Linked DNA regions of Homo sapiens: regions 2, 3, 4 and 5 are each linked to region 1. Evidence: promoter capture Hi-C in 16 types of primary human blood cells and fetal thymus (Javierre and others, 2016). All regions are on one chromosome and are shown on one strand. Each heading gives the region's core, a stretch centred on a gene start or on the middle of the fragment in contact. The rest is flanking DNA. Distances are from core to core; before and after follow the strand shown. Region 1 holds the start of SPTAN1 (spectrin alpha, non-erythrocytic 1). Region 2 overlaps NUP188 (nucleoporin 188). Region 3 holds the start of MIGA2 (mitoguardin 2). Region 4 holds the start of GOLGA2 (golgin A2). Region 5 overlaps DNM1 (dynamin 1).

Region 1 (4,339 bases), core at 104-2,603:
GAATGATCTGGGTGTTACTCCCAGTGGCTGCGGCCCAGCTGTCACCGGAATGGGGATAGGGAAAGGGCTTCCTAATCCAGGGCTTCTGGCTACAGAGTTTAGAGCCAGGACCTTAAACTGCTAGGACTTTAAGTATCAGAAATTCTGAGAATCTTATTTTTCTCTTTCTGCACCCCAGCAGCCACCCGCATCAAAATGCCTCCCTTTCCTATTTGAAGGCAATACACATACGGTTGCAAAGGGAAGGTTCTGACTGCTGAGATGTAAATCCTAGCTCTTCCAATTGGTAGCTGCCTGACCTGGGCCAAGAGACTTAGCCTACATGAGCATTATGTAAGAGTGCCCATTTGTAAAATGGGAAAACATCTCATAAAATTATTGCAAAGATTAAGAAATGAAAAGGTAACACGAAATACTTAGCATAGTGCCTAGTACACAAGGCAAGTTCGATTAATTGTGCCAGAAAGAACCTTAATGTCTTGTTTATGAAATAGGATGAATGTAGCCTATTCCACTGGCGACCTGTGAGAAAGCTTTTGTTGCAGGAATGTAAGAAATTATTATTTTGCCGCTGCCGTTTCCTCCCCCATAATCTCCAAGAACATAAGAAATTAACTCTCCAAATCCCAGAATGACAGCTTTATGCCCCAAATTAGTCGACTTAATTTTTTTTCTGATTCGGATTTGGCCTTTTCCTCTCACCACCTCCTCAAACCCGGGGCCCCAAATCATCCGCGTCTTCTTGACCCCAGCCCCCACCGAATTAGGCTGACTTGGGACCCCAGCGCCAGCCTCCTCCTCGGGAAAGTGAGCAGGAAGAGACGCACTCGGGTGATCTCACCCTTTGGGACTGGGCGTTTTTCCGGCCGGGGCGCGCAGCATCCCCAGCCAGACTGCAGCGATACCCCCGCCCCGCCCTTCTCCGCAGTCCTGGAAGAGCTCCCAGGGCGGAGTGGTGCGATGCAGACGACTGTCCGCAGGGCGGGCGGTGGCGGGGCGCAAGCTGCGGGGAGGGAGGTGAGGCGGGAGCGTCTCTACCGCCAGGGCGTAGGCAGTGACCTCACTGCACCATCACCCCTCACCCCTTGCGCGCGCCCCATTTCCCCATCCTCCCGCGGCCCGCCCCTCGCTCACCTCTTCCCCCGCATTGTCGCTTCGGCTCCTTCCGGGATCGCTCGGCCCTTTCCGCCGGGCGGTCGGGCGGCGAGCCGGCGGGAGCACCGCCCCCTTTGCTCCGCCGGCGCGCTCCCCCACCCCTCGCGCAGCGCCGGGGCGCTTCCCCCGGCGCTCGCGCCCGCCCGCCGCGGGAGCGCGCGTAGCCGCTTATAAAAGAGGCGGGGCGCGCGCGTCGCCGCCACTACCCGCTGCGGAGTGAACGGTGTGGAGCGGAGGCCGCGGAGGCTCCTCGGTCCTTCAGCACCCCTCGGCCCGACGCACCCACGCCCCTCACCCCCCGAGAGCCGGTGAGAGGGGCAGCCGGGGAGCTCCGGGAGGGAGCGGGGCCCCGGGCAGCCGACCCCCGGGTGGGAGCTGGGCAGCTCTTCAGGCGGGGCGGGGCCGGCGCGCGGACAGGTGAGCCGGGCGGGCCGCGGGGCTGCCTCCATTCGGCTGAGTGGGGGAAGCCGCTGCCGCTGCTTTTGTGGCGCGTGGGCTGCGGAGGAGCAGCCGGGCCGAGGCTCGGCGCCGCCGCTGGAATGTCACTGACGGGGGGAGGGGGCGCGAGGCCGCCGGGTCCCTCCCAACCACCCCCAAGCCTGGCTGCGGCGCGGCCCTGCCCTGCCCCATCCGGCTGCGGCAGGTGGGTGGGGGCTCCCTCGTCGGGATCTTCGCCAGCCGCCTCCCTGCAGAACGCTCCCCGCACCGCCCCCGGTCCCTTCCCTCGGCCGGGAGCGACTTCTGCAGCTCGTTCTTCCGAATCGCACCAGCAATGCCGGCCAGCCGTAGAGGGAGGAAGAGCCCGGGGAGCCCGAGCATAGCGTAAACGGCTCTCTGACCTTAATTTCATCCTGCATGGCGAATCTCTGCCGTCTCTCTGAACGCAGAAGGGTCTGAGACTGGCCGTCTCCTTTTCTTTCCTTGTAATAAACATTTTTCTTTCTTCCTAGTTGTGATTTGCTTGTAAATAATAGGTAAATGCAGTGCTTGCATGGTATGTGGCTCAAATCAAATAACTTAATAGCTTAGCGTTCTTGTTTGTGTGTGTGTTTCCTGGGACTGGGTCTTTCGAGTCGAGATACAGTGTCAAAAATTCTACCATACCACTGTTGAATGATAGAACAGTCTTTTGTTTGAAAGCTGTCCCTGAGAATTTGATTAGACGCTTCCCCTAGAACATCGCTTTCAAAAGTCTCTGATGTACTAGAGTAAAATATATTTTAAATAAGCGCCTTGTTAAAAGTTGAATATGTTTTAAATGAAAAGCCTAAATAGCTCAGAAAGCTGGGTTGAGATGATGCTTGAACTGTTCCAACATCTAATCAGATCTCTTTTATATAATAGATCCTAAAATATTTAAGCCCTTTGTTCTGTCTTCATCATGTTATTTTAGAAAAACTTACCATCATGGCTGTTCGGGAAGAACAGGAGAGAGGCCATATGAAGTATTTTCATAATGTGTTGAGAAATTGCGTCGTCATAGCAATTGGCCTTAAGTAAAACAGAATGTATCAAAGATGGAAGGGTGGGGGTGTCTTGGAGCCAGGAAACAGAAAATCTTGGAAATAGCAGGAGGAACACTCAGCTATATGAAGCCATTGAGTCAAGGTTCCGACTCCTTAACTAGTCGTTTATTTTCCCTTTCATTGCAGCTAACTAATGTCTTAGATTTTGAAAGGTCAAATTGAATGTGCTGCGGAGGAAAAAAAAAGTGCTGCAGTAAAGGCCTCTGTGCAGGAAATTAACAATAAGCCTTTTTTAGTAACTGGGCCAATAATTACTCAAAGGGACCCTCAAAGTGTGTTAACTGTTATCCAGGGACCTTGATGGAGAGACTGGAAAGGAGGATTTTTGCTTCATCCTGGACAAGTGTGAAGCAGTTCTTATGGCAAACCATCAGCCTAGTAACTGATTCTCTGATATGCTTTGGTCTTGGCAGTGTGTTTTGTAGTCATCTAATAATTGGAGAAATCTGGTATGTCACAGGCTGCAGTGTAAGCCTGTCAAGCAATATGATGAAGAGGTGCACATGGGGAGAGCTGTTTTAAGTATGTCTTTTGGTTCCCTGGGTTAGAATTTTTTCTGCTTTTTCTTACCTGCCTTCATCCAAAGTTGGGGGTCAACTGCAGATCCTGAAAAGTGGATCTCAGGAATAGTCCCCCATGTCCTGTCACTGCTGAATCTACACTAAGAATGGACAAGTGTGTTCAAGGCTGGCCTGCCTTTGTAATCAGTCCTCCGTGGGCTATGCAGGGATCCCACTAGTTACGCACTCATCTGTTGCAGCATATCAGCTGCGGCTGTACTGTAGAAGAATGCAACGCCCTAGTGGCAAATGCTGACTCCAGGAATGCGGAGGAGGAGGAGGACTGCATAGCTCATCACTGGGGGCCACTTGACTGGAGCAGCTGTGCTGCAAACCATCACCTCTCTTCCACCTTTTTTGCATATTCCTCTTGTACCAATTTTGAACAGGAAATAGTATTTTGTAAAGTAAGTGTACTGGCAAACTAGGCCCAAGTCAGATCTTTGTGGCTTGAGTTCTACTTTGTGGCAATTTCATGAAGTCATGCTCTTTTATTGCTGAATGGAAGGGGATTTAGGAATCATCTTGTCCTGGGATCCTCAGGAGGAAGGCATGTTTAGTTTGAAAAAGTATATTCGGTATTATTACTTTAACAAGTGGGGAAATTGAGGCCCCAAGGAGAATGAGACTTGACCAGGGCAGCATATCTAGAAAGTAACTGCCAAGACCTGGGAACCTTGGTTCTCCTTCCACATTTTAAATCCCTTGTGGGATTTAGACGCTATACAGAATGTCAGAGAGAAGACACTGAAAAAATATCTGAAATTGGATTTTTAATCTGTATTCATATTTTTTAAATAATCTGTTTTCTTCATGATTTTGTTCCGTTTGCCCTTAGAAGCTTGTTATCTTGCTCTTCCCCCTCCCTCTTTAGACTCCACATTCCTCCATCATGTTGTCATCGTTTCGTAAACGCAGAGTCCAGGTATTTGACGAGCATGCAGAAAACGGGTTGCCTTTTTGGTTTTGCCTGGCTTGCAGTGAAGGCATATTCGTGTCAAAGAGGTTGAATGATCCAAAGAAAGGGGGAAAAAAACCCTGCCTGCATGACGTTTCTGTTAAACAAATTGGTTAGGATTTGTTTGGGGTTTTTTGGTG
Region 2 (4,397 bases), core at 1,873-4,372, 400 kb after region 1:
AACACTCAAAGGAATGTGTAATACTTAGTGTGATTCTGGAATCTGATTTTTTTTTTTTTTTTTTGAGACGGAGTTTCGTGCTTGTTGTCCTGGCTAGAGTGCATTGGTGCAATCTCGGCTCACCACAACCTCTGCCTCCCAGGTTCAAGTGATTCTCCTGCCTCAGCCTCCCGAGTAGCTGGGATTACAGGCATACACCACCACGCCCAGCTAATTTTGTATTTTTTAGTAGAGACAGGGTTTCTCCATGTTGGTCAGGCTGGTCTCCAACTCCCAACCCTAGGGGATCCGCCCGCTTCGGCCTCCCAAAGTGCTAGGATTACAGGCCTGAGCCACCATGCCTGGCCGAGTCTGATTATTAATAAAACTGCATTTGGGCCGGGCGCAGTGGCTCACACCTGTAATCCCTGCACTTTGCTGACATGGGCAGATCACGAGTTCAGGAGTTCAAGACCAGCTTGGACAATATGGTGAAACCCCATCTCTACTAAAAATACAAAAAAAACTGACTGGCATGGTGGCGTGCGCCTGTAGTCCCATCTGCTCAGGAGGCTGAGGTAGGAGAATTGCTTGAACCCAGGAGGCGGAGGTTGCAGTGAGCCAAGATTGCGCCACTGCACTCCATCCTGGGTAACAGAGTGAGACTCCGTCTCAAAAAAAAAAAAAAAAAAGAAAGCACAAAAAACTGCATTTGCGGTCGGGTGCCTTGGCTCACGCCTGTAATCCCAGCACTTTGGGAGGCCAAGGCAGGCAGATCACTTGAGGTGGGGAGTTCGAGATCAGCCTAGCCAACATGGTGAAACTCCATCTCTACTAAAAATACAATAATTAGCTGGGTGTGGTGGCTGGCACCTGTAATTCCAGCTACTCGGGAGGCTGAGGCTCGAGAATCACTTGAACCTGGGAGGCGGAGGTTGCAGTCAGCCAAGTTGGTGCCACTGCACTCCAGCCTGGGTGATAGAGTGAGACTCTGTCTCAAAAAAAAAAAAAAATACTGCATTTGTATAATTACCTTGTTCTTTTCCAGAGTCAGATTGAGGCAGAACTGAATAAACATTGGCGGCGATTGTTAGAGGGGCTTTCTTACTACAAACCTCCCAGGTATGGCAGTTCCGGGTGTCTGGTTAAAGTAATTGTCCTAAGGAAGCTGACATGGATAAAACCATCCTTCTATGTGCTTTGATGATATTGTAGGGTTATGTATACCAGAGATAATACAATTTAGTTTACCAGTGGAAAACAGTAGGGTACATTTGTTTTTTTGTTGACCGAAAGAAAAGGAAATTCCTTCTAGAAATACAGTATTGTAGAATATAATTATGACCTATGTGTGGGGATGAGAATTTATTAAACATTCAACGAATTTTCTAATATTTATTCAGAGTCCACAGTGTCTGTGTGAGTACTAATTGGTGGGAGATAGCAGTGAAGGATGATGCTAACAACTGACACTTGTGTAGTGTTAACTATGTAACAATTAATACTCTAAGCACCTGACTTATCAAAAGTTATTTAATCCCCACAACACCCCTTTGAGATAGTTACTACTTTTATTCTTTGGGTGAATATATAGATCTTTTTATTGGGTAGTGGAAAACATAGTAATAAAATATAAAGTAGTTGCAAATAAAGAGAATGCAGCTTGTAGGGCTGGGCTTATTTGATCTTGATTCCTAGTCCAGATCTCATTCTATTATGCGTTATAGTCTAAGTCACCCTCATTTCCCTTCTACTTTTGTACTGCTTTTGAATGTATTACATCTTTACCTTCCATTTTCATTCTCTTAGGTTAACGATGAACTTTTCCTTGTTATTCATCTGTCTGTTAATTCTTCCCCTGTAATTACCTTAAAGTAAATCCCAGATACCTTGTTATTTTATCTGCAAATACTTGACTATGTATCTAAAATACATGGACTTTTTAAAAAGATAATCTCTATATTATCACATTTAGGTACCCTTATCATTGTTTCCATTTTACCAGTGGGGAAACTGAGGCACAAAGAGGTTAAGCAACTTGTCATGGTCACACAGCTACTAAGTGATAGAACCAGGATTTGACCCTGGTGGTCTCATTCCAGTGTCTGTTCTTTTTTTTTTTTTGAGATGGGGTTTTGCTCTGTCGCCCAGACTGGAGTGCAGTGTCACATCTCAGCTTACTGCAACCTCCACCTCCCGGGTTCAAGTGATTCGCTTGCCTTGGCCTCCCGAGTGGCTGGGATTACAGGTGCCCGCCACCACGCCCAGCTAATTTTTGTATTTTTAGTAGAGATGGGGTTTCACCATGTTGGCCAGGCTGGCCTTGAACTCCTGATCTCAAGTGATCTGCTCACCTCGGCCTCCCAAAGTGCTGAGATTACAGGCGTGAGCCGTCATACCCAGCCTATTGTTTTCTTTACTATCTTTTTTCTGTTCCAGGATCCAACCTAGTTGTCAAGTGCCTGTAGTCTCCTCTTAGCTGTGACAATGTCTTAGTCTTTTTTTTTTGAGATGGAGTCTCGCTTTGTGGCCCAGGCTGGAGTGCAGTGGCACGATCTCGGCTCACTGCAAGCTCTGCCTCCCGGGTTCACGCCATTCTCCTGCCTCAGCCTCCCGAGTAGCTGGGACTACAGGCGCCCGCTGTGACAATGTCTTAGTCTTTTTTTTTTTTTTTTTTTGAGATGGAGTCTCGCTCTGTGGCCCAGGCTGGAGTGCAGTGGCACGATCTCGGCTCACTGCAAGCTCTGCCTCCCGGGTTCACGCCATTCTCCTGCCTCAGCCTCCCGAGTAGCAGGGACTACAGGCGCCCGCCACCACGCCTGGCTAATTTTTTGTATTTTTAGTAGAGACAGGGTTTCACTGTGTTCGCCAGGATGGTCTCAATCTCCTGACCTCATGATCCGCCCGCCTCGGCCTCCCAAAGTGCTGGGATTACAGGCGTGAGCCACCGCGGCCGGTGACAATGTCGACAATGTCTTAGTCTTACCTTGATTTTCATGACCTTGAACAAGTTTGAGGACTGGTCAGTTATTTTGTAGTATGCCCCCAATTTGGGTTTGTCTGATGTTTTCCTTATTATTAGACTGGGGTTGTGAGTTTTTGGGAAAAATACACAGAGGTGAGGTGCTCTTCTTTTTTTTTTTTTTGAGATGGAGTTTCGCTCTTGTTGCCCATGCTCGCGTGCAATGGTGCGATTTCAGCTCACTGCAACCTTTGCCTCCTGGGTTCAAGCAATTCTGTCTCAGCCTCCCGAGTAGCTGGGACTACAGGTGCATGCCACCATGCCTGGCTAATTTTTGTATTTTTAGTAGAGACAGGGTTTCACCATATTGGTCAGGCTGGTCTTGAACTCCTGACCTCAGGTGATCCGCCCGCCTCAGCCTCCCAAAGTGCTGGGATTACAGGCGTGAGCCACCACGCCTGGCCAAGCTACCCTTCTTACCACATCATAGCAGAGAGTACATGCTGTCCACATGAAATCACTGGTAATGTTAATCTTGGTCACTCAGTTAAGGAGGCATTTGCCAAGTTTCTCCTCTGTAAAGTTACTTTTTTCTCTTTTCCTATTTTATTTTTTGGAAGTGAGTACTAAATATAGCCATGTCCAGCTAATTTTTTTCACTTTTGGTGGAGATGAGGGTCTCACTTTGTTGTCTAGGCTGGTCTCAAACTCCTGGCCTCAAGCTACACTCCTGCCTTGGCCTCCCAAAGTGCTGGGATTACAGGCATGAGCCATTGTTCTGGCCCCTCCCTATCCTATTTATTTATTCATTAGTTTATATCAGTATAGACTCAAATATATTTATTTTATTTATCTTATACTTTGTTTATACCTTGTTTCAGCTTTGGCTATTGGGCATTCTTTTAGGTTGGCCTCTGTCCTTTGGGCGTGTCCTTCCTTTTTTCTTTTTTTCTTTTCTTTTTTTTCTATTATGTCATCTCCTACCGAAAGGACTTTGGTTTCTTAAGCCCTTTTGTACTTCTTTTCACTATAAGATGCTTCAAGATTTTCTTGTATTTTCCTTGCCCTGACTCTAGAATCAACCAATTCTCCAAGGAATCCTGTTATTAGAGAATGGTATTATAAAGCAGGATCTGGGTGCTGCATGTACCTCCTGCTGTTGGAGTATTATAAATTCTAGGCCTTCTCGGTGGACAGAGCTATTACAGATAATATATTAATATATGTATGTATGCCACAGACCTGGTTTTAAATTTTAGCAACTGTTTATGAGCTGTGGGATTTTTGGTAAGTTATTTACCCTAAGTGCTGGCAATTCCATTTGTAAAAGGAGAATAGTAATATTTGCCTTTTAGGGCAGTAGTAAGGATCAAAAATAATGTAACTTAATGTGTTTACAAATAACATTGTTATAACTGTAATTTAACCACTTTTTTTTTGTTTTGTTTTGTTAGGC
Region 3 (4,469 bases), core at 1,844-4,343, 480 kb after region 1:
CAATCTCTGCAAAATGGCCAGAACTGGTCCATGGCCAGTGGTCTAATTCTTTTTTTTTTTTTTTTTTTTTAAGACAGGGTCTCGCTCTGCCACCCAGCTGGAGTGCAGTGTTACAATCACGGCTCACTGCAGCCTCAACCTCCTGGGCTCAAGCGATTGATCATCCCGCCTCAGCCTCCCAAGGAACTGGGACCGCAAGTTATAGAGACGGCGTTTTGCTGTGTATTGACCAGCCTGATCTCCAACTCCTGGATTCCAGTGATCTTCCTGCCTCAGACTCCCAAAGTGTTGGGGTTATAACCATTAGCTACCGCACCCAGCTGTTGGTCTTATCAGAAGAGTAACTGAAATTAGTCTTTTGTCCAATGAAAGCTATAGTTAGGCTAGTAGAACAGGAGTTCAGTTAGTCAGCGTCCGGGAGCTGAAGGAGCTGCAGTTGTTTGAGTGTTGCTTATCTTGAGGCCAATGCTTGTTTGTATTTATTTATTTATTTATTTATTTATTTATTTAATACATCCTTCATTGGAAGCCAGTGCTTATTTGGCTGCTAGAGAAAAACAAAACAAAACACCTTTTGCCAGTTAGAGGACAGTTATTTTATTTTATTATATTTATTTTTTTGAGATGAAGTCTCACTCTGTCACCAGGCTGGAGTGCAGTGGCACGATCTCGGCTCACTGCAACCTCCGCCTCCCGGGTTCAAGCGATTCTCCTGCCTCAGCCTTCTGCGTAGCTGGGATTACAGGCACCTGCCGCCATGCCCAGCTAATTTTTTGTATTTTTAGTAGAGACAGGGTTTCTCCATGTTGGTCAGGCTGGTCTCCGACTCCCAACCTCAGGTGATCCGCCCGCCTTAGCCTCCTAAAGTGCTGGGATTACAGGCATGAGCCACCGTGCCTGGCCCTTGGCCCCCCCCCCACCCTTTTTTTTTTTTTTGAGACGGAGTTTCACTCTTGTTGTCCAGGCTGGTGTGCAATGGCATGACGATCTTGGCTCACTGCAACCTCCACCTCCTGAGTTCAAGCGATTCTCCTGCCTCAGCCTCCCAAGTATTTGGGGGCAGGTACCACCACCCCCGGCTAATTTTATATTCCAAAGTTACCACAGTACTTACAGCACCCTCAGCCTGGGTGTCTAAGCTTATCATCCCATGCGCCTCCTCCCCTGTGCCAGACAACCCCACTAATGACTCTGGCCTGTGCACTCATTCCGCCTGGACCCCAACAACATCCCCGACTCCCTTTAGCCACTCTGCCCAGTCTCCTATTCACCCCATGCCAGACCTCTCACCAGTCCCACCATGCCGGGCACTGGGCATCCGCTGTTTGGACCACCCTCCCCTCCCGTCCCCTCCCTTGCCTTCCCCTTCCCTCCCCTCCCCACGGAGTCTCGGAATGCAGTGGCGCCATCTCGGCTCACTGCAACCTCCGCCTCCCGGGTTCAAGAGATGATTCTCCTGCCTCAGCCTCCTGAGTAGCTGGGATTACAGGCGCATGCCACCACCCCTGGCTAATTTCATCATGTTGGTCTGGCTGGTCTCGAACTCCTGACCTGGTGATCTGCCCGCCTCGGCCTCTCAAAGTGCTGGGATTACAGGCGTGAGCCACCACATCCGGCCTTGGACCCCTTTTCTTTCTGGAGCCCTTCACCTCCCCAGGCAAGCCCAGGTATCTCCTTGGTATCCCACATTCCCCCATTAGAGTAACCATCACAGGGGATTGTGATTAAGTATCTGCTCCCCAGACAATGAGCTCCCTGGTGCCACCACATACCTGTCTCTTGTCCACCACTGAGCTCCCATGTCCAGCCAAAGGATTGGCACACTTAATTAGTTGAATGAATGAAGGAATGTGGCTTTACCGACAATTGTAATTTTCCTTTTTTTTTTTTTTTGAAATGGAGTCTTGCTCTGTCACCCAGGTTGGAGTGCAGTGGCGCAATCTCGGCTCACTGCAACCTCCACCTCCCAGTTTCAAGCGATTCTGCTGCCTCAGCCTCCTGAATAGCTGGGACTACAGGCACACGCCACAATGCTGGGCTAATTTTTATATTTTTAGTAAAGATGGGGTTTCACCATGTTGGGCAGGATTGTCTCGATCTCCTGACCTCATGATCCACCTGCCTTGGCCTCTCAAAGTGCTGGGATTACAGGCGTGAGCCACTGCTCCCGGGCTTTTTTTTTTTTTTTTTTTTTGAGATGGAGTCTGGCTCTGTTGCCCAGGCTGGAGTGCAGTGGCGTGATCTTGGTTAACTGCAATCTCCTCCTCCCGGCTCAAGCAATTCTCCTGCCTCAGCCTCCCAAGTAGCTGGGATTATAGGTGTGTGCCACCACGCCCAGCTAGCTTTTTTATTTTTAGTAGAGACCGGTTTTCACCATTTTGGCCAGGCTGGTCTCGAACTCCTGACCTCATGTGATCCACTCACCTCAGCCTCCCAAAGTGCTGGGAATAGAGGCATGAGCCACTGCTACCGGCCGACGATTACAATTTTAAAACGTAGTTGTGCCCAGCTCTTCGCAGTTATGGAAGGGCTGATACACCGTCCTCTTTCCATCCTCACCAAAGCCCTATGATTTGGGAAAGGGAAGATTTTATCCCTATTTCTTTTTTTCTTTTTGAGACGGAGTCTCGCCCTTTGGCCCAGGTTGGAGTGCAATGGGTGGATCTCAGCTCACTGCAACCTCTGCCTCCCGGGTTCAAGAGATTCTCCTGCCTCAGCCTCCTGAGTAGCTGGGATTACAGGTGTGTGCTACCAAGCTTGGCTAATTTTTTTTTTTAATCTTTAGTGGAGACAGGGTTTCACCAGGTTGGCCAGGCTGGTCTCGAACTCCTGACCTCGTGATCCACCCACCTCGGCCTCCCAAACTGCTAGGATTACAGGCGTGAGCCACCGCGCCCGGCCTCATCCCTATTTCATAGAGGGGTAAGCTCTAGAGAGCTGAAGTGGCAACACTTGATTCTATCTCAGGTCGGCCTGATCTCAATCCTGGTATTTAGTGTAAGACCCAGATAGGTGGCCAGAACTGAAGACCCCTTGACTCCAGCTCTCAGAGAGACACTGTCTAGCGGCGAGACCTGGCACTTTTGCAAACAACTCCAGAACAAGGGGGAGAGTGGCGACAGTATAAGAGCATGCTGCGGGAAGTCAGGGGCGGTAGTATTTGAAAATGGGCGCTTGGAGAGTGGGAAGGATTTGTCCTTGTGTGGAACAAGAATAGAGGATCCTAATACGAGGGCTCAGCCTGCTTTGGCGTACTCCAAGAAAGCCCCTTGGAGGTCTGACTGCTCCGCTTCAGCCCCTTTAAGAATGGCCCCGCCCCACCCAGCCGCCCATGTCGATCTAATCTGAATGACCAATAGTAGAAGAGAAGAGACCACTTTCGCGCTTCAACCGCACTAGGAGGAGGGGAAGAGGGCGGGAGAGGCGGAATATAAGCTTGGTCACATGACCCGCCTAATTGGCCAGAGGCTGCGGCGGCCCTGAGAGACTCAGCGATGCTCATTGGCCAGAAGAGGGTGGGGGCTTGGCGCTAGGCCACGCCCCCGGGCGGCCGGTTTGGTTGCGCAGCCGCCGGGGAAGGAGACGCTGCCCTTCCGCAGCGATGGCATCCCGGGTGAGTATCGGCCCCGGCCGAGCCCCCAAGGCGGGCGGGCAGCGCGGCAGGGCCGGGACTTGAGCGGAGGACCGAGTAGGCGCAGGTGTCCGGGCCCAACAGGACCAGGAAGGTGTCGGGGTTGGAATGAGTGGGTACCCGGGCCGGGGACGGTGCGAGAGGGTGCCTTGCTTGGGAGCGGAACGAGAAGGTACTTGGGTCAGGGAGGTGATGCCCGGGCCTGGAACGTGGCGGGGATTGGAGCAGGCGCGCAGGTACCCGATCCGAGGCGGGGAGAGCACCCGGGATGGAAGGAGCAGGCGTGCGGGCCGTGAGCGGCGCCAGAGGGTACCTGGGTGAGTTTCAATGATATTCCGGGGTGGGGGCAAGAGAAGAAGGGGCTGCCCAAGATGCCTGGGGTGGAGTGAGCAATTTCTGAAGACGGGGATATTGCTGAGGTCCAACGCGGGGATGCCCGGTGCCCGGCATGGTGGGACTATTGAGGGGTCCGGCATGGGGTGAATAGGAGACTGGGCAGAGTGGCTCAAGGGAGTCGGGGACGTTGTTGGGGTCCAGACGGAATGAGTGAGTGCACAGGCCAGAGTCATTAGTGGGGTGGTCTAGCGCAGGGGAGGAGGCGCGTAGGATGATATGCTTAGGCACCCAGGCTGAGGGTGCTGTAAGTGCTGTGGTGACGGTGGAATGAGGAGGTGTCCGCCTAAGATTGTAGGGCACAAGAGATGGCTGCCCAAGTGGGGCCAGGCCCTACACAGCAGTAGAAGTGTCCATTTGGTAGGGGACCTTGCCGTGGGCTTTTCATTGTGGAGAGGAGGTGGAGGGGTCTCAGCTTAGGCCCTGGAGGACGGACAGGGTGCCA
Region 4 (4,357 bases), core at 345-2,844, 280 kb before region 1:
TGGAGTCCCAGCTACCTGGGAGGCTAAGGCAGGAGGATTACTTAAGGCCAGGAGTTCAAGGTCAGACTGGGCAACACAGTGACACCCCCTCTCTAAAAATAAATATGTATCTTAAAATGTGGGCCGGAACATTAAGTCGGCAGGAACTGTACACTGTGTGGTTTAGAGTCATACATCCTCACACGTTTGGTAATGTTAAGAAATGCACCAATGCCTCTCAAACTTTTACATCAATGTATCCACATGGCAGAAGGCAGCCTTTCTGTTGAACCTGGGAATTTAACAGAAAGAGGACAACCCAAGCCTCATTTCAGAGAAAAGTCTGGTATACTCTTAGAAATTTATGTGACTGTCATCCCTAAGTACATTAATGTTTTTTCTCTCTCAAGAGAATAAAGGGAGACTGATGCTTCAGAAAGATGCCCCGTATTTATCCTGTGGCACTCCAAGTACCCCAGGTTGAGATGATATGAGGAAGATTCAAGCTGTCAAGTTCAGTTTCCCAAGACCTGTTCCACAGAAGATAAGCAGATCTCATTCCAGAGACCACTGAAGGGCACTCTGGTCCCAGAACCATGGAGAATTCGAATATGAGGTGGAGAAGTCAGAAAAAAATGTTAAAGTCTCTCTGGAGAGTAGAAGCCTGGGGGAAAACCAAACCAATCCCGTTCTCACATTGCCACCCAGAGATACTGCCAATGTTTTCAGTTCACGGGTGAAGTGTAGGCTTTTCACACTGTCAATGTCTATGTTAAGGGTGTAAGGCAGCCTGAAACCTCTCCCTCCTAGGTCCCATAGTCCCCAATCCCCTTCCAGCTGGAAATTTATGCTGTGACCAGAGGAACCAGAAGCGGGATGAGAACACTTAGGGGACTGGGTCCTAAGATCAAAGACTGGTCTCGCGCAACTAATTACGGTTCCGAGGGGGATTGTGACGTCACTACATTCCACTCCTAGGGGGAACATCAGCGCGACGTCCAAGTCGCCGCTCCGCGATGGGGGAGGGGACCGCAGGGCCAGGACCCAGGTCCTTGGAGACCCGAGACCAAAGAACCCCGGGAGGTCCGGTTTGGGGCGGCAGGAGGTGAGGGTCGAGTCTGGAGCGGGGGGCCCCGGGAGTCACGGGCCCAAAGTCACTGGCGAGGGCAGGGGCTGAATTGCTGGGGTCCTAGGTCCTTGGAGACGCCAGCCCAAAGAGCCCAGGGAGGTCGGACTTCGGGGGGCAGGAGGTGAGGGCCGAGTCTGGAGCGGGGAGCCCCGGGAGCACCAGCCCAAAGTCACCCGGGGGCGACTGGCGAGGGCGGGGGCTGGGCGGCTGAGGGGGCGGGGCTGGCTGACAAGACTTTGGTGGAGGGAGCCCGGACGCGCCGTGGGGAGCCCAGCCCGGTGTGCCTCAGGAGTGGCAGAGACTCTGGCCATGGTCCTGCCATCGGAGTGGGGCTGGGGCTGGGTCGGGGGGCCGCGACCCGGTGCACTTTACCTTTTTCTTCGCTGCGGCCAATTTGCTCTGTCGGGTTTCTTCCGACATCGCGGGGCGGGGAGGGAGGCGGGGTTGGGGCCACATCAGCGCGATCCCGGCAACCACTGCGGAAGTCAGTCAGCCACCGCGCAGCTGTGCGACGGAGCCAGAGGAGGCGTAACCAGGGCGATACTGGAGCGCAGAATGGGGGCGTGGCCTCAAAGATCAAAGCCCATTGGTCAATGAGAAATATGAAGCGGAAGGGGGCGTGGCTATGCAGCGGCGTGGCCAGAGGGACCTGTGGCGTCACAACAAAAGCTGCGCACGCAACCGCTGTCCCCGCCCACCTCGGGAGAGGGGCGGGGCCGGCTTTCCTTGGGTGCGCGCGCAGCTTTCTGTGCGCCAGTTCACACTCCGGGTCAGAGTTCCTGGCCCGGTGCACCTGAGAGGTCGCTCTCCGACTCCCGCGCTGGACCCTCTTGCGCCATTGAACCCCCTGATCCGGGGGCCTCGGACCCCAGGGCTCAGGAGGTGGGCGAGGAACGGACTCCACAGTTTCTTTCCTGACTCCTCACAGCCCTGCCCCAGACTCTCCCTTCCCAGAAATCACCTCCAAAGACTCCCATCCAGTGCTCCAGACAACCCCCGTCTCAGAACGCCCCCTTCCTAGAGGGTCTCTACCCTGATCCTGAGAGCGTGTCTGCCCCCTTTCCAGATGGATCCAGTCCCTGGCGCTCCTACTTCCCAACTGCTCCTCCTCCCGCATCCCCACAGTACCCCGTCCTCACAGCGGGCTGTGGGTCCAATCAGACTTTCCCCTCGGATTCCTCTCTAGGACTGAACCAAGACTTACCCGAAGTTGCCGCGGGGCCTTCCGATCCCCTGTGAGTATTTCTTCCCCCACACCCCCTTTCCCATCCTCGACCTTCCCTTGTGCGCTCCCGGCCCCACTCCCCATCCCAACAGCAGCCAATCCCCGCTTGGCCCTCTTCCATATCTTCTCCCAGTCGACTGAGAACCGCCAGGTCATTCCCGAATCCCTCCCCTTCCTTTCCTCATGCCCGCCAGTCTTCAAAGAAGTGTTATCCTGTCCTGTCCTAGGCTAACTCCTCTCCCTCCCCATCCTGTCTCCTGGCTCCTCAGATGCCTTTCACTCCAGTCCAGCACCAGCCATCTCTCCTCCTCGCTCTTTTCACCCCTCACCCAGCCCTGCCTTTAAACAAACCCATAGCTCCCCAGTCAGGAAAATGCTTGGCGTTCACCCTGGCCACTCCTTTCGTTGCTAATAGTCTCTCCTCTTCGCTGGCAAGCCACCCCCAAAACGCAGCCTACTCCTTCTCTCATCCCCCAGATGGAGTTGCCACTACAACTACCACCACTCTTAAGGTAGATCGTGAGGGCCGGGTGCAGTGGCTCACACCTGTAATCCCAGCACTTTGGGAGGCTGAGGCGGGCAGATCATTTGAGGTCAGGAGTTCAAGACCAGCCTGCCCAACATGATGAAACCCTGTCTCTACTAAAAATACAAAAAAATCAGCCGAGCGTGGTGGTGCAGGCCTGTAATCCCAACTACTCAGGAGGCTGAGGCAGGAGAATTGCTTGAACCCGGAAGGTGGAGGTTGCAGTAAGCCGAGATTGCACCACTGCACTCCAGCCTGGACAACAGAGCTAGACAAGTCTCAAAAACAAAAAAGAAGTTAGATCGGGAAAGACTTGGTATTTGTTCATTGATTTAGCAACTGCTGCAATGCAGGTGTATGCCAGATAGCCCCCTGCCCTCCAGGAGCCACAGGCAAAAAAATAATTCCAGGACAAGTATGCACATGGTTCTGAGATGGGGAGCCCAGGCTTGGGCTTGCAAAGAGGGCTCTCCAGAGATGGCAGGGTCAGAGGCAGGGCCTGAAGGGCAACTCACAGTGAGCTCAGATGACGATGACGGGGTGGCAGCCATAGTTTGCCAAAAGCACTGGGCTGATTGAGCTTCTCTCTGCAAGTGGGTTGGTATCCACTGTCTTTGACCATGCGGTAACTCACTGCAGATCATGCCTTTCTCATTCATGCTAATTCATTCCTTCTCTTTTTTTTTTTTTTTTTTTTTTGAGACACAGTCGCACTCTGTCGCCCGGGCTGGAGTGCAATGGTGCGATCTGGGCTCACTGTAACCTCTGCCTCCCAGGCCCAACCCATCCTCTTGCCTCAGCGTCCCAAATAGCTGGAACCACAGTTGTGTGCCATGACGCCTGGCTAATTTTTTTGTATTTTCAGTAGAGACAAATTTTCGCCATGTTGCCCAGGCTGGTCTCAAACTCGTGAGCTCAAAGCAACCTGCCCGCCTCGGCCTCCCAAAGTGCTGGGATTACAGGCATGAGCCACCATGCCCAGCTTCCATTCCTTCCATTTTTAAAAACAACGCTCGACCCGGCACAGTGACTCACGCCTATAATCCCAGCACTTTGGGAGGCTAAGGTGAGTGGATCACCTGAGGTCAGGAGTTTGACCAGTCTGCCCAACATGGTGAAGCCCCATCTCTACTAAAAATACAAAAATTAGCTGAGCATAGTGGTACATGCCTGTAATCCCAGCTACTTGGGAGACTGAGGCAGGAGAATCGCTTGAACCCAGGGGGTGGAGGTTGCAGTGAGCCGAGATCACCCTGCACTCCAGCCTGGGCAACAGAGCGAAACTCCATCTCAAAAAAAAAAAAAAGGAGGCTCTATTGAGCATTGTCCCATCAGCTTACTTTACATGCATCATCTTTCCAGTTCCTTCCAGCAACCTTTGAGAAGACGCTTTACTGTCCCCATGTTGAGGTGAGGCCTGTGAGTTCCAGAGAGATGAATATAGCCAGGACGTGGCAGAGCTGGGGGCTTTAAACTGAGAAACTGAGTTGTTTTTGGT
Region 5 (4,170 bases), core at 1,590-4,089, 300 kb before region 1:
TAAGTCCCCTCCCGGTTCTGTGACCTTGGTCAGATGACTTTTCCTGTGGACCTCAGTGTCCTCATCTGAGTGAGAAAAGCGCGGTGGGGAGGTGAATCTTCCAGTCTACGCAGTGTAGGAGCCGCGTCTGAAAAGCCACACCAGCTCACAGTCCCAGCAGGGCCCGGTGGGGCGGCCAGGGCGGCACAGGCATCAGGTCCCCACCTCCTTCCCTCTTTGCCTACTCGCAGACCAAGGAGTTCATCTTCTCGGAGCTGCTGGCCAACCTGTACTCGTGTGGGGACCAGAACACGCTGATGGAGGAGTCGGCGGAGCAGGCACAGCGGCGCGACGAGATGCTGCGCATGTACCACGCACTGAAGGAGGCGCTCAGCATCATCGGCGACATCAACACGACCACCGTCAGCACGCCCATGCCCCCGCCCGTGGACGACTCCTGGCTGCAGGTGCAGAGCGTACCGGCCGGACGCAGGTACCAGGGCCGGCCCCCACGGCCCCAAAGCCCCCCAGCCCGGGGCCCGCGGGAGGAATGCCGGGACCGGGCAGTGGCGCGCCCGCGTCACCGGGGTGGCTCCCACCTGGAGCGAGGGGCGGAGCTTAGAGAGGGCGGGGCTTGTCGCGGGGCGGGGCTTGCCGTGGAGAGCTGGCTGCAAGGCTGGGTGGAGCTGGGGCGTTGGCGCCGCTGGGGGCGGGGCTTAAGCTCCGGCGACCGCCTTAGGGGTGCGGCAGGGAGGGGCTTGCGTGCATGGGCGTGGCCAGCACTGGGCTGGGGCGGGGCCTCTGGGTGGGCGGAGCTGCTCATCTCGCCTCTCCTTGTTCCTCGCTCCCTGTCGCCCTCAGGTCGCCCACGTCCAGCCCCACGCCGCAGCGCCGAGCCCCCGCCGTGCCCCCAGCCCGGCCCGGGTCGCGGGGCCCTGCTCCTGGGCCTCCGCCTGCTGGGTCCGCCCTGGGGGGGGCGCCCCCCGTGCCCTCCAGGCCGGGGGCTTCCCCTGACCCTTTCGGCCCTCCCCCTCAGGTGCCCTCGCGCCCCAACCGCGCCCCGCCCGGGGTCCCCAGGTGAGTAGGGGCTGAATGCGGCTGGAGAGGCTGCCGGACGGGCGTGGCCGGGAGGGAAATGGGGCTGGATTCCAGAGCATCGGACCTGGCCGCCAGAACCGGCCGTTTCTATCCCAGGCAATCGGACTCTGGGTGCCGGAGCCACGCCACGTGTGGCCGAGGGCTGGCGGAGCCTGCCCCCGAGGGAGCGCTGAGTCCCGGAGGTGGTCGTTTCTGGGGAGGGGGCTGTGGGGCTCGTCCCACCTGCCCCCTTCTTTCCAGCACTTGCATGGCGCTTCCCTCTATTTTCACTCTTGGCGGCCGCCCACACGTTGCATTCCTCCTCCTTTCTTCTTCTTGCTGTCCTCCATCCTCCATTCCGTCCAATTCCTCTCCCAGCCCCTGGGGAGCCTACCTTAGGTCTGACTCTGAACCCCGATCTGCTCTGAGTGTGTGGATTTCCTTCAGCTACCCTGATGTCCCCACTTCCCAGCCCTGACTCCTTTGAGCCATCCCAGGGGGTGTCCAGCCACTGGCCCACAGGAGCAGAGGCCAGGCTGTGACTGTGTGACTAGAAAGGTGTGTGATGTGTGTGTGGGCGTGCACACGAGTGTGAGAGTGTAAGCATGGCACCCAGGCCCGGGCTAGGACAGGAGCAGCTGGGGAAGCAGCCTGGGCCGTGGGCAAACTGATGGCTTTTTTCCTCCCCCCAACCACCCCCTCCGCGACTTCTGGCCCTACCCAGTCTAAACCAATGTGGTAGGGGTGGCGGCAGGGGCAGGGATGGGAGTGCTTGAAGCCTGCTTCATTCCCAAAGATTTCTAGGGAAAAGCTTTCTACTACATCCTTTGGCTTGACCTTCTTGACCCATGACTCTCTTTCAAGGAAGTTCACTCCAATTCCCAGTCTGCCCTGTTTCCACTGGCCACATTCTCTAAGGAAGAACACAGCAGAACAATAGCATCTGTTTTGTTTCTGCATGGCTGGAGGGTAGGGCTGTCGGTCTAGCACCCATAAACCAAAATGAGGCAGGGATTGGGGCTTGCCCTATGATGCTCTGATGACCAAAGCAGATGCGTAGAGGCAAGCAGCATGGTATTGGGCAAGAGGACTGGACTGGGAGTCCAGAGATGCTGCTTCACCCTGGGCCTTTAGACACGTCTCTTTCCCTCCCAGAGCCTCAGCATCCCTTCTATCAAATGATGACATTCTGCCTTTTTCCCAGGGCGGTTGTGGGGATCGAGGGAGACAGTGGCTATAGGGATGCTGTGTTAACTGCAGATGCAGCCGTAGGAGCACTTTGCTAACTGCCAACGTGAGTTCAGATTCTTCAGGGTATTTGGCACCCAGGTCTATGGTGCGGTGTGAGATCTGTGATGTAAGGTTTGATGCCTGCCCCAACTCCAGTCTTGCTAACACACATGAAACATTTGGCAAATCATGACCCTACCTTGGGGAAAAGAGCAGTCTGGGAGAGCTTCTTCAAGGCAACCTGACTTCAGTGCAGTCTGAGGCATGGCTGAGATAGGCTTACGTGGCAAGGAATCAGGAGGGTATCTGGGCCAAGAGCTGCAGTGTGGGCAGAGGTGTAGTGTGGGCTGCAACGAGGACAGCCACTGGACAAAGCAGAGAACAGAGACAGAATGAGGAAGAGCTCTGTGGGCAGGGTGGGGCGCAAGGTGGAGAACCTTCAAAGTCTGAAAAGTTTGACTTGTTGGGGCTCAATGCTGTGGGCAGTAGGGAACCACAGAAGGCTCTTAGGTGGAGAAATGACAGCTGGACTTTAGCGAGCAAGCCCTATCTCCATGAGCAGCACGGGTGATCCTCTAAGCACACCAGGCACGAGTGTGCAGGGAGCTGGTGCAAATGCCTCTGTGTGCGGGTGAGCTTCTGTGTTGTGACTCTGCCCACACGTGTGCTTCAGTGTGCTGAGTGGCTGCATGCCCCAGATCCATGCTGCACGCGCCGCCGGCCAGTGAGGGTGCTGGGCACTGGGAGGTGGCGGGGAAGGAGGCGTATGCGTGTTGTTTGTGGGCATGTGTGTTAGCGTGTGCATGTGGGCCATGGGGCCTCACAGCATGTGTGTGCACGCCCGGGCGTGTGCGTGTGTGTGTCCCCCACCCCCAGGCCGGCCCCACCCGTGCGTGTGAACTGCCATGTTGATTTCGTGCTGTCTTTCAGAATCACTATCAGTGACCCCTGAGGAGCGTCAGCCATGGTAGGTACATGCCTCACCGCCTGCTGCATGAACGGTGTGTCTGCCCCGCTGCACTAGCTCCACACGGGGCGCGCACCTGGGACCTCAGAGCCAGGCTCCCCGCCCCTCCCTTCTGCAGCTGCAGACTTGCTCTTTCCTCTTTCTGTCCTTGTGCCGCTGGCTCTCTCACCTCCCTTCCCTGCGAGCCTCGGGACTCAGTGCCACTGCCCAAGGCCTCCATGGCTGAGCCTGGAGGCTCTTGGAACAGGCTCCGCGCCCAAGCTGGCAGACATGGGTGCTCTCTGGAGCCGTCAGAGAGGGCAGAGAGCTCGTGGTTTATGGTGTAAAGGCTGGGAGCTTGGAGGGGGTCGTGTGTGGGGCTGGACTCTGAGGCGGCCAGAGGCCTAGGAACGTTATCCTGGGCACACCGTGCGTGGTGTGCAGTCTGAGTCATGCTCCCTGGGTAGGGCATCCAGCTCCCAGCCTGGGAGTGCTGAGAGCCAAATCCACCGTAGAGCAGGGGTGAGAGTCAGGGTCCCACCTCCTCTATCTGCCGGCAATCCAGTGGTGACCTAGGGTAAAAGCTTGAGAGTCCCATACACACGGTCATCCCACGACATACCTCACAGGCCAGGCAGGGACACACAGCCCCCTTCCCTCCCTCCCAGGTACCGTCATAGCTGCTAGTGTGACTGAAGGCAGTGTCCCTGGCCCCAGCTGAAGCACCGTAGCCAGCCAGCGGGCTCACGCACCTTGGCCTGTTGCTCCTAGGGTCACTTGTGCCATTCAGCCAAGGGGACGACCGTGCCTGCTGGCCCAGCTGAGCTCCGCCCAGTGAGCCCACCCCCCATTCTCCTGCCACTGACTCTCGCTCTTCTGCTTTTCCCAGCAGGAAGGGCCCAGCCTCACCTACGAGACCTGCAGCCCCCCGACCAGCT

Evidence for each region. The method cuts DNA at HindIII sites, captures the fragments that hold promoters and counts their contacts. A CHiCAGO score of 5 or more calls a contact.
Region 2: a contact is called between a fragment that was not itself captured here and the fragment with the promoter of SPTAN1 in region 1, in 1 of 17 cell types (M2 macrophages). The highest score is 7.3, in M2 macrophages.
Region 3: a fragment that was not itself captured here is called in contact with the fragment with the promoter of SPTAN1 in region 1 in 13 of 17 cell types (fetal thymus, total CD8 T cells, naive CD4 T cells and 10 more); the score reaches 8.6 in fetal thymus.
Region 4: the fragment with the promoter of GOLGA2 here is called in contact with the fragment with the promoter of SPTAN1 in region 1 in 1 of 17 cell types (endothelial precursors); the score reaches 5.1 in endothelial precursors.
Region 5: a contact is called between a fragment that was not itself captured here and the fragment with the promoter of SPTAN1 in region 1, in 1 of 17 cell types (endothelial precursors). The highest score is 5.0, in endothelial precursors.

What each region holds. Positions count from the first base shown.
Region 1 is chr9:128,551,234-128,555,572 of GRCh38, forward strand. It overlaps SPTAN1 (spectrin alpha, non-erythrocytic 1), which reads left to right and starts at 1,354. Exons shown (of 57, transcript NM_001130438.3): 1 at 1,354-1,463. It overlaps LOC101929270 (a long non-coding RNA gene), which reads right to left and starts at 1,180. Exons shown (of 4, transcript NR_188457.1): 1 at 1,135-1,180. RefSeq lists silencers at 998-1,767, 3,317-3,611 and an enhancer at 3,803-4,302. The HindIII fragment of the contact is 3,549 bases long and covers 532-4,080 here.
Region 2 is chr9:128,951,746-128,956,142 of GRCh38, forward strand. It overlaps NUP188 (nucleoporin 188), which reads left to right. Exons shown (of 44, transcript NM_015354.3): 3 at 1,028-1,101. Among named protein-coding and RNA genes, the nearest start is that of NUP188, 6.2 kb to the left of the region's middle. The HindIII fragment of the contact is 8,060 bases long and covers 1-4,397 here.
Region 3 is chr9:129,033,069-129,037,537 of GRCh38, forward strand. MIGA2 (mitoguardin 2) reads left to right here and starts at 3,558. Exons shown (of 16, transcript NM_001329990.2): 1 at 3,558-3,613. RefSeq lists a silencer at 3,543-3,672 and an enhancer at 4,013-4,142. The HindIII fragment of the contact is 679 bases long and covers 2,755-3,433 here.
Region 4 is chr9:128,274,413-128,278,769 of GRCh38, forward strand. GOLGA2 (golgin A2) reads right to left here and starts at 1,595. Exons shown (of 27, transcript NM_001366244.2): 1 at 1,481-1,595. The coding sequence starts at 1,564. SWI5 (SWI5 homologous recombination repair protein) reads left to right here and starts at 1,864. Exons shown (of 5, transcript NM_001318089.2): 1 at 1,864-1,990; 2 at 2,295-2,343. The coding sequence starts at 1,929. RefSeq lists enhancers at 1,059-1,108, 1,969-2,098 and a silencer at 1,259-1,368. The HindIII fragment of the contact is 23,128 bases long and covers 1-4,357 here.
Region 5 is chr9:128,249,885-128,254,054 of GRCh38, forward strand. It overlaps DNM1 (dynamin 1), which reads left to right. Exons shown (of 22, transcript NM_004408.4): 20 at 231-472; 21 at 841-1,056. Among named protein-coding and RNA genes, the nearest start is that of MIR3154, 6.9 kb to the left of the region's middle. RefSeq lists an enhancer at 103-242 and silencers at 413-912, 923-1,012. The HindIII fragment of the contact is 1,949 bases long and covers 1,866-3,814 here.